Regions from separate parts of the Homo sapiens genome. Here all the other regions are linked to region 1. Evidence: promoter capture Hi-C in 16 types of primary human blood cells and fetal thymus (Javierre and others, 2016). All regions are on one chromosome and are shown on one strand. The core of a region is centred on a gene start or on the middle of the fragment in contact, and the rest is flanking DNA. Distances in the headings are between cores, read along the strand shown.

Region 1 (3,578 bases), core at 432-2,931:
AATAGCTTGCAGACTGGGAAGCACTTGAACATAATAGTGTTTCATTTGATCCTCGTACACTCTTGGGAGATAGAAAGCATTATTTTTACTCTCTCTATTTTATGAACAAAGAAAATCAGTTTCCAAGTAGTTAAGGTCACAGAGCTGAGTATTGGGCTCTGTTCTTATGGATTTCTGTACCCTCCATAGAGAATGGGGTCAGTGGGGTCTTATCCTTGAGCAGCCGTGTCAGAAGTGGGAGCCCTGGGCATAGAGCCTTAGGGACTTATGGAACATACTGTGTCCTCACTAGGCTGGAGCAGGGACTATGGTTGTGGATGCCATAATTGGTCTGCTTTGGAAAGGGCTTCCTTTATCTCCACCAAAGAGATATCACCAAAGATCTGGGGGCAGCTTGGCCAGTCTATGTGCTGACTCTCTGCTGGAGCTGTCTCCTAATCAGGTCACTGCTAGAGTTCCTCTTCCTAAATGTCCCAGTGCCATGACTTTGGTGCTCTAGCTTGTGGGATTGAATCAATCTAAGAGTCCAGAGTCTATGAGGACTCCTTCTTCTCTATTGTATGCTGCTGTCTGAAGCTAAATGCTATTGTACAAGTTTTGTTGCTGTTTAGATTTTTTTTTGTTCCCAGATTATTGTTCCAAAAATAGACCTACGATATATTCTTATACATTTGAATTTAATTAAGAACCTTTTTCTCAATGACATAAATATGGTTTTACTATTTCCAGCCAGGCCAGACAAAGATGCCTGAAGACAGATTTCTAAATGATGCTATGTGCCAATTTCTCTGATCTTTTTAATATTGTAACTAAGGGGCCTTGCTCTGAGATGGTGGTTTACGATTTTGACATGCTGTCCTGTACCACTCTCTGATCACAAGGGAATACGTAGAAACTCACCAAAGCAACTGCTGTCAGTCATCAAAGTGGAGCCACATTGTCCCTTCTAACCTCATAAGGATCCTTATGGGATTCAGGATGATCACATTTTCAGTGCTCTAAGGACTGTCTCCGTATGACCCCAGCCATACCATGCCCATTACTGATGTATTTGACCTGTTGAGCCTCCAACAGCATTGCAGACTCCACTTTTTGTGTTCCAACAGGACTAAGGCCAGAAGCGAATGTCCTATTTTTTCCTGCCATTTCTCTGCTGAGCAACAGTTCACCCTTGAAGCTGCTGCTGCCTAAAGAACAGGAGAAGATTCAGGAATGCTAACAATAGTTACCTACATATCGCATGCCCTCTGCCCTTGCCCATTGTAAGAGCCTCACCACTTGGATCAGTAAGAGTCCACACTTGCTCAGTACATCTTGGTGCTCACTTCAGCTGTGGGCTCTGATTTAAACATCCAGCTCAGGGGATGCCTCTTTGGTGCATGTCATAATCAGGAGAAGAATGCTGGCTTTGGATTCTGGAACTGACTCCATTTGTAGTGAAGAGTTTGGAGAGCATCAATAATGGGATGGCAACATTCATTCATTCATTTATACCTCTAACCAGTCTTTCCTCACATACTGGTTGAGTACTCAATACGTGCCCTGTGCTTAGCTGAGTACTGTTCAATGGTGAACAAAGAAGACATGGTCTTAACTAGAAGTTCCTATTTCAACAGAGTAGCCCAAGGAACTTCAACCACTTTTGCTACAGGTGTATTAGTTACTGCCAAGAGTCTGTAAGTGTTCATGGGCCTCATTAAGCTCTGCCTTCCTTCTGCTTTTTGGAGCCTGGCCTTTGGTTGGCCTTGAATGAAGAGTGGGGCCCCAAAAGTACCACTGTCAGCACTCTCCAGGTGAGTATTATCCTGGGAGAGGCCAGGGCATGAGGAGGGCCAGGGCGTGGGGCCCTCTGAAGGCTGTGTCATCCCAGGCTTCAGCCACAGAGGTTTTATTACGGAGGAAAGCTGAGCTGTGAGCACGTTGCTAGGCTGTGGCTATTTATTTTTATAAACGAGCCTTGTGCTTAATTTAGAAACCTGCTTTTTCTTTTTCTTTCTTCTTTCCAGCATCATCTGGCTGTCTGGCACCATCAAAGAATTGCATTTCTGACCCAAGAAGAGCTTATGGGTGGATGGGGGTGGGATGGAAGCTGGGGAGAGGATTGATGCCAGCCAGCTGCCTCACAGGGTGCTGGAAACACGTGGCCATGCCATTAGCATCCTGTTCGGCTTCTGGACGAGTTTCATCTGTGACACCTACATAGTCCTCGCTTGGATCAGCAAGATAAAAGGCAGCCCTGATGTTAGTGCCTCCTCTGATGAGCCATACGCCAGAATCCAGCAGAGCAGAAGGCAATGCCACGCAGAAGAGGACCAAAGTCAGGTGCCAGAAGCAGGTGACATCTCCACTCTCAGTTCTTTGGAGGCAGCTATTTTAATAGAACCACTTTACTGCAGCTATTTTGACATGAGGATATTTTGGTATGGCTCAAAGATTCAGCCGATAAATGTTCAGCTTTTTAAAAAATAAATGATGAGTAAAATAGGCATCTTGCAGGCCATCTGTGAGCTTCACCTCAACCTTGATCTTCACCTCCCCCCCTCCATTGTCAATCTTACCTCCAGGCATCAAGGGTGTATGGATTGGTAACAGATGAAGGAAAGGACTGGTAGAGGTTCAAAATGAAAGAAATAGCAGGTCAGGACTCCAGGAGGGTTGAGGGTCTTTTAAAGTAAAACAAAACAAACAAACAAACAAAAAAACAGGGTCAACCAAATTCAGAAGTCAGGTAGAAGTCAGAGAAGGAATGAAAGATGGGAAACTGGTTATAAACCAAATACAGCGAGTCTGAATTTTGGCTTGTTTTGAGGCTGCTGTATCAAAACAGTTGTGTTGGAAGAGCTGCATGAAATTGTTGGGCAAGAAATAGTCCACTCATGATTCAGATAAGCTCATTTTGCCTCTTCCATGGTCGATTTCTGACTCATAAATGTCTATACATTTCACTTTACGGCTTATGTGAGCCTCAGTTTCCCCACATAAAATGCAGATGATGATGTTGGCCCTTCCTCTTTCCCCACCTTTTGCTCTCCTTCCAAGTGGCATGATGAGGAATGAGCCAGCATCTTGTAAACTGCTCCAGGCCACCTGGAGAAATGTGCTTGCGTAAATAGTCGGCATTAGTATACGTGAGTCTTCCATGAGTAAAGAATTTCAGAGTTGGCAGCCGTCTCTGCCTGGTGATTCATGTGGGCACGATGATGCCCTTAGCTACAATGTATGGTGTGGGTGATGAATTTGTTCTTGTCACAGCAGAGGACTGAGTATTCTTTACCCAAATGCTATAGATTGAGTTTGCACATGGGAACTAGATTAGCTCTGAAGAGAGTTGAAAGGAACCTGACATTTCTGCCTACAATCTAGAGTTTCATTGTACAAACAACCGCAGCAGCACATTTGTGCCCAACCATTGGCTCCCTTTGCCAGCAAAGAAAATCTTCTAAATTCTTCTGCCATTTGTCAAACCTGCCAAAGTCCCTGGAGGCAGTTCTGGTATAATTGAAGGTGGAGAAAGATAATATTCTCTCTACCAGGTTTCACTACTTCCTGTGTTGGTTGTTCACAAGGGGAGAGCTTCT
Region 2 (3,578 bases), core at 505-3,004, 830 kb before region 1:
CGCCCGCCTCGGCCTCCCAAAGCGCTGGGTTCACAGGCGTGAGCCACCGCACCTGGCCTTATTTTATTTTTTTAAAGCTATCTCCTACAGGAAGGAAAGCATAATTTTTCACATTTACTTTTATTTATTTATTTATTGAGACAAACTCTCGTTCCGTCGCCCAGGCTGGAGCGCAGTGGCACTCTCGGCTCACTGCAACCTCCGCCTCCTGGGTTCAAGCGATTCTCCTGCCTCAGCCTCCAGAGCAGCTGGGATTACAGGCGCCCGCCACCACGCCCGGCTAATTTTTGTATTTTTAGTAGAGATGGGGTTTCAACATGTTGGCCAGGCTGGTCTTGAACTCCTGAGTTCAAGTGATCCGCCCCGTCTCAGCCTCTCAAAGTGCTGAGATTACAGGCTTGTGCCACCTCGCTCAGCTGGAAGGCATAATTTTTAAAGTGGTTATGACAGAAATTATATTGGAAAGGGGCCTGTAGTAGAAACATAGCCTCCGGGTAGACCAGGAAGAAAAATTAGATTCAGAAATGGCAGGGTTACTCTTTCAGCTTTACTCTTCTCCAACTGGGTGTCGGTGCTAGTCTACAAATGTGAATAAACATTAAAGCAGATAGGTATGCATGCCGGAATCCGAGAAGCATTCGTTTCGTATATACCAAGTGCCTGTTGCGTGTTCAGGTAGAAGACCATAGTGCAATGGTGGAGACAGATTATGTCGACAAATTATTCAAATACAGTGTACTAAATATGCAATGTAATTAGGAAAAAACCCGAGGGCAAAAAGAAAGGCATGACAATGCTTCGGGGAATCTGGAAAGGTTTTATTGGTGTGACATTTAAGTTGGGCCTTGAAGGATGGGGAGAAGTTTGTCAGTTATGTTTAGGAATGCAACCAGAGGAAGCCCAGAAGCCTAGAGCGTTAAGGAATTGCGCAGCAACTCAGACTGGATTGAGTATTGGGCTGTGTTTGTCAGATGCAATAACAGAATGAGAGGCTAGGAAGGCAGGTCGGGGGCTGGAGAGAACAGGATCTGCAAGGTTCTTGTAATCAGAAGGCAATATGGCACAGAGGTTAAGAGAACCGCTTCCTTCTAAGTCGCGCTCCATCACTTGCTAGCAGTATGATCTAGACACTGGCATGGGCTTGGGCGTACCCATTTGCAACATGGGAAAATAGTTTTTTTCTTATACGGCTTAAATGACTGAGTGGGTATCAGTCAGTTAGGGCAGCGTGCAGCTCATATTAAGGCTAAATGAGAATGTATTATCATCACGAAGCCAAACCACGCCAAAGCTCGTTTCTAGGAGGGTCCCCCAGCCTCCTCCCCCCTGCTACTGTTTGGGAAGAGAAAAGTTCTCTCGGGTCAGGCCGCGCCCACTCCCCACTCCTCCGCCCTCCTAGGCCTCCGACTTTCTTCAGCGAGCAGGGCCCGGCCAGGGAGTGGGTAGATGGGCCTGGTGGGCAGCGGAGACGCCGCCGCTTACCAGGGCTCGGGTCCCGCTCTTCGTCCTCCGCTGTTCCGCGGGCCTTGAAGCCGGGCGGCAGGGCCGGTCCGATCAGGTCTCTTGCCATCCGCGGTGGCGGACACTGGTCACAGATATGAGTCTATCCACGAACGTCAACCCTATCCAAAAAGAATCCCGCGATCAGCAGCGAAGAATGGCAGGTTTCCCGGCGCCGAGAAATGACGTAAAGCCTGTGGTTGGCTGAGCCTTGTAGTTCACGGTAAAGGAAGTGACGCCTAATGCTTGCTCCACAGTCGCGTGCTAGACTCCGGACCCGCCAGTGGTATGGCTGAGCCGACTAGTGATTTCGAGACTCCTATCGGGTGGCATGCGTCTCCCGAGCTGACTCCCACGTTAGGGCCCCTGAGCGACACTGCCCCGCCGCGGGACAGCTGGATGTTCTGGGCAATGCTGCCGCCACCGCCACCACCACTTACGTCCTCGCTTCCCGCAGCCGGGTCAAAGCCTTCCTCTGAGTCGCAGCCCCCCATGGAGGCCCAGTCTCTCCCCGGGGCTCCGCCCCCCTTCGACGCCCAGATTCTTCCCGGGGCGCAACCCCCCTTCGACGCCCAGTCTCCCCTTGATTCTCAGCCTCAACCCAGCGGCCAGCCTTGGAATTTCCATGCTTCCACATCGTGGTATTGGAGACAGTCTTCTGATAGGTTTCCTCGGCATCAGAAGTCCTTCAACCCTGCAGGTAGGCTATTTTTCCACGTGAGTCGACCCCTTTACCTTTTTCCCCCGTTCTTTCCTCTCCCCTTTCTCTGCTTCCTCTCTCTACTCTGCCTTGCCTCTGCACTCTTGGAGTCTGGTCATTAGCATCTCAAAGCAAAGTGAGACCCCCGTCTCTACAAAAAAAATAAAATTAGCCAGGCATGGTGGCATGCCTGTGGTCGCAGATGCATGGGAGGCTGAGGCAGGAGGATTCCTTGAACCCAGGAAGTCGAGGCTGCTTTATCAACTAAGTTTATATAATATTGTAAATCCTTTGTTCTCAAAATATGTCTGACTAGAATGTTTTCCTGTTGACTGTTAATTCCATTTAGCAGTTATTTATTGAATTCCGACTATGTACCAGAATCTGGGTATATAGCAGTGAGCAGAACATACAAAAAATATTATGGAGCTTAATATTATCTCTCTTGTGTAGGAAGACAGACAATAAGCAAAATAAAATATTGTGCATTAGAAGGTTGAGTGGCATGGAGAGAGATAAAACAAAGAAGAATGGTAAGTAGTGCAGGATTTTCTTTTTTTCTTTTTTTTTGGAGACAGAGTGTCGCTCTGTCGCCCAGGCTGGAGTGAAGAGTAGCGCGATCTACTTCACTCCAGCCTATGCAGTCTCTGCAGAGAGGCTCACTGCAACCTCTGCCTCCCGAGTTCAAGCAATTCTCATGCCTCAAACTCCTGAGTAGCTGGGACTACAGGCCCACGCCACCACACCCGGCTAATTTTTTATATTTTTAGTAGAAAGGGGGTTGCCCCGTGTTGGACAGGCCTGTCTCTAACTCCTGAGCTCAGGCATCCGCCCGCCTCAGCCTCCCAAAGTGTTGGGATTACAGGCATGAGCCACCACGCCGGGCCAGGTAGTGCAGTTTTAAATGTCATTGTTAGTCATAAGGAAGGTGACATATGAGCGAAGACTTTAGGGAGGTGAGAGATCACAGCCATGCATACAACTGGGAGAATAGGGGTACGGGCAGAAGGAACTGCAAGTGCAAAGGTCTTGAGGCTTAGAAGCTATACATCAGAATGGGAACCAGTGTGGCTACAGAGGACTGAGTCTGGAGTATAATTGTAGAAGATGGGGGAGGAGGGTAAGACCTGGTATGTCTTTGTAGATCGTGGGACTTTGACTTTTACTGTTGTGAGGTGGGTAGTACAGCGGATTGACATGACCTGATTTACGTTTTAAGAGGATTAATGTGTCTGTTGGTGAGAACTGACTGAAAGGGAAACCGGTTAGGAAGCTATTGTAGTTACTTTTCTAAACAAGAGATATTGGAGACTTGGACCAGGGTGAAGCCCAAGGGATGGTGAGAAGTAGTTGGATTCTAGATCTGGGGATACCTTGG
Region 3 (3,578 bases), core at 499-2,998, 810 kb before region 1:
AATTTATATAGATCTCATTGGCTAGAAGTGGGCTGCTTGACCACCTTCAGTGGCAGTGGAGTTGATGGGATGCCTGAAACAAAATTGTTAAGGAATGGGGGAGAATAGTCAGTGTTTGCTTTAGTTCTTGGTGGCACAGTGGAATTTCAAAACTATAAGTGAATTTTGGAAGCGGCTCTGTCCTTCTGAATAAAGGATTGGTTTGAGCAAGCATTTAATAGGCTTGCTGGTGGCTCTTTTTATGTAGGACAGGTGGGGGCTGAGGGGATAGAGTCTAGCTCTGGTTTCCAGAGGTATGCTATGACAGCAGGCAGAAGTGCCTTGGAAGAGGAATGGGCAAAATCTGTTGAGGGAATAAGTGAGGTTATAGGTTTGTGAAATTTAGAGGTGTTTAAAGAGAATGAGGAAATGGGGTGAAGATGGCAATTTTGGATGAAGTTTATTTATACCTGTGATGTTGCTTTGTTTAGTAAGTGCTCTGAAAATTCTTTGGGCACTGGGTGAGTTCATCTGAGGTTCTTCCATAGTTTGTTTCTCAGGTTCTTGCTCTTTAATATATTCTGAAGAGTTCATATATATTTTTTCTGTATGTATATTTTATTAGAGGATATGGGAAATACTGCTTTTCTTTTGGTATGTTTGATAGATTTCTCAAAAATGCATAAATACTATCCCCACTAGCAATTTTTTAAAAACCTATTATGGGCCGGGCGTGGTGGCTCACACCTGTAATCCCAGCCCTTTGGGAGGCCAAGGCAGGCAGATCACTTGGGGTCAGGAGTTTGAGACCAGCCTGGCCAACATGGCGAAACCCTATCTCTACTAAAAATAAAAAAAATTAGCTGGGCATCGTGGCACGCACCTGTAATCCCAGATACTTGGGAGGCTGAGGCAGGAGAATTGCTTGAACCCAGAAGGCAGAGACTGCAGTGAGCCAAGGTCGTGCCACTGTACTCCAGCCTGGGCAACAGAGTGAGACTGTCTCAATAAAAAAACAACAAACAAAAAAACCCTGTTACAAAAATATACTTACTTTCTACATTCCTGTCATTCTCAATTTTTAAAAAATATTACTTGAACTCCTAAAAAGAGTAAGTTCCACATTGGTGTGGCAGAATAGTCCTTATTTCATGAATTTGATCTTTGTGTGAGAGCTACATTCTTTCCGATGAAGCCACTATATTCTTTGACATGCAGGAAAAATAAGGTCTTTATGTAGTTGCTCTGTTAGGAAAAGCTTGTGAAAGATTTCACAGAGTAAGAATTTTAAAGCTTAAAGAAAACTGAAGGTTTGCTTGGCATATGGCTTCCTTATCTTTGACAAAAGTACATCTTTGTCCTTACTTCTACATCTCTGTATTTTTCAGGTTAGTCAGACTCAGGGGTACCGAGTGTATTTAATTTAATAACTTTTAAGGCTTTCCATTAATAGCCTTTCCCCTACCTCCCCAAAAAAGCCACCAAAAAAAGTTATTCTTTCTTAATTCCTGTCCTATGTAGTACCAATGCTGTATGATTTGGCTTTAGGGAAAATGAGTGGTAGAGGTTTGTTTCCAAAACCTTGCTTTTATTATAGAAACAGTGGAACATTTTTCACAGCAGACTGGGAGTCCACTAGGTGGAGTAGTTTTACAATTTATTTCAACGCTTACTGTGGCTCTGAGGAAATCCTTTTGTTTCCCTGGTTCATGCAGAATTCCAACACAGGAGATCTGCTCTAAAGAATGCTGTATCTTTTTGATGTTCAGAAAGAAAAGTACAATAGTGTAGCTTGTGTGGAAGCAGTTGTGGTTTAATGAGAGTGGGAAGAGTAACTATGTTTTATAGAACAGGCAGAGGGGAAAAGCCAATAAATGGGTCGTGATTTGAGCATAAGGAAAAAATTGGAGAGAATAATGTGACCAGAATGGTCTGTGCTAAGATAATGGTTAGGACGGTTTGCCCATGTGTTGGCTCTGTAGTGCTTAAAGATTGTCACTGGAGGCATAAGGTATAGGCAATGAGGAAGGTGAAGAAGAGGTAAAAAATGAAAGAAGAGAGGAAGGAAAAGAGCATAGTTTCAGGACCATTTCCTCTTAGTGAACTGAGGAAAGATAGAAGTACAGGGAGAAAATGATTTTAGTAGATAAAAATATAGAAAAACCAACTGTGAAAATTTCCCTTGTCACGGTCTTTATAACTTCATATTATCCATTCTCTAACAGGAGATATTGGACTAAGCTTTACATGTATGTAACTGCAATGTAAGACATAATTTATGTTTTTTCAATAGTCTTTGGATTTGTTATTTCTTGTACTTTAGGAACCTGAACTCCTTCATCAGAACTCCTTTTTTTTCGTTATTCATTTATCTCAGCTTCATGTTGGTGGAGTGGGGCTTCCTACTGTTGTTTATGTGTGTAATTAGGTCTTGTGTTTCTGATTTTTCTTTTTTGCGATAATGTGCTTTTTAGCAACCATTTTTCTCTCTAGTTTTAAATATCTGGATTCTGTGTAAATAAGAATGTAATAAATTTTGGAAGAGGATTTTATTGATTTCAGCACCAAGAAAAATAAAATCTTACAACTTTTTAAAACTCTAATCTTACTTTTAGGAACATGATACTTAATTTTAGGAAGACAAGTTTCCTTACCTTTAGGAACATGATATTTAATTTTAGGAAGTTAAGTTTCTTTACCTTTAGGAACATGATACTGCAGTCTGCCTGAAAGAGAAAATTAGCTGTTTTAAAAGGCTTCCATCAAAGGAGTTTCTACACATCACATCTTTGATGTTTCACTTAGGGAACTCTTTCTTATATCTTACCTAAAATCCACTTGCTATAACAAGTTTAAATTCTTTACCAATGAAAAGCAGTTACCTAGCATCTGCTCTCTGGTACGTAGTACACTGTAGTGCCAAATTTTATCATGTAACATATAGCCCAACATGGTAAGAGTCTGCAATACTCTGCAAAAATGTTGAAGAAACTTAAGTAATAAGTAAATTTGAGAATTGTGGAGGGTGTTGAGTAGCTGTGAGTTACATGTCTCGCCACTGTGAGGCCTGTAAAAATCATTACTGTTTTTCTCATTTCTACTTCTGCATATTCTCTTCAGTTTGAGAACAACTGGACCATCCTCTCTGTAAAACTATTTTTATTGTCGCTTCTCATCTTCTTTTAAAGGTTGCAAATAGTTCCTTTCATCTTTCTTTGGAGGTTTTATTTTTCATCCTATTAATCATCTTTGAGTCTCTTCTGAATCCCTTCCAAGTCTTTTTTTTTTTTTTTTCTTCTCAGTGTTCCTTTAGTTTAGAAGTACAGAACTGGACACAGTGCCCTGAGATTATCTGACTGCTTTTGAGTATCCTGGAGGAAGATTTCACACTCGTACAAGTGCCAGAGTCTACTTCTTATAACCTTAGATTATGTTTGCTTTCGAAAAATGTAGTCATGTATTGCTGACTGTCAGATTTTTATCTCCTATGACCTTGATCTTTTCCTTTTATGTTTATTTATAGTTTGTACATTAATCATCTTTTTTTATGGAGTCTATTTTTCTTGACTGGATATATATTGCTTCACACTGTCCTCATT

The links. The method cuts DNA at HindIII sites, captures the fragments that hold promoters and counts their contacts. A CHiCAGO score of 5 or more calls a contact.
Region 2: a contact is called between the fragment with the promoter of NUFIP1 here and the fragment with the promoter of SMIM2 in region 1, in 10 of 17 cell types (activated CD4 T cells, M0 macrophages, M2 macrophages and 7 more). The highest score is 9.2, in activated CD4 T cells.
Region 3: a contact is called between a fragment that was not itself captured here and the fragment with the promoter of SMIM2 in region 1, in 1 of 17 cell types (M2 macrophages). The highest score is 5.6, in M2 macrophages.

What each region holds. Positions count from the first base shown.
Region 1 is chr13:44,159,360-44,162,937 of GRCh38, reverse strand. SMIM2 (small integral membrane protein 2) reads left to right here and starts at 1,681. Exons shown (of 3, transcript NR_197392.1): 1 at 1,681-1,793; 2 at 2,007-2,335. RefSeq lists an enhancer at 2,550-3,578. The HindIII fragment of the contact is 6,510 bases long and covers 1-3,578 here.
Region 2 is chr13:44,987,647-44,991,224 of GRCh38, reverse strand. NUFIP1 (nuclear FMR1 interacting protein 1) reads left to right here and starts at 1,754. Exons shown (of 10, transcript NM_012345.3): 1 at 1,754-2,200. The coding sequence starts at 1,789. GPALPP1 (GPALPP motifs containing 1) reads right to left here and starts at 1,687. Exons shown (of 8, transcript NM_018559.5): 1 at 1,483-1,687. The coding sequence starts at 1,570. RefSeq lists enhancers at 941-1,577, 1,504-1,693, 1,884-1,953, 1,578-2,216. The HindIII fragment of the contact is 7,208 bases long and covers 1-3,578 here.
Region 3 is chr13:44,968,102-44,971,679 of GRCh38, reverse strand. The region is part of intron 5 of NUFIP1 (nuclear FMR1 interacting protein 1); the gene reads left to right. Among named protein-coding and RNA genes, the nearest start is that of NUFIP1, 20 kb to the left of the region's middle. The HindIII fragment of the contact is 948 bases long and covers 1,275-2,222 here.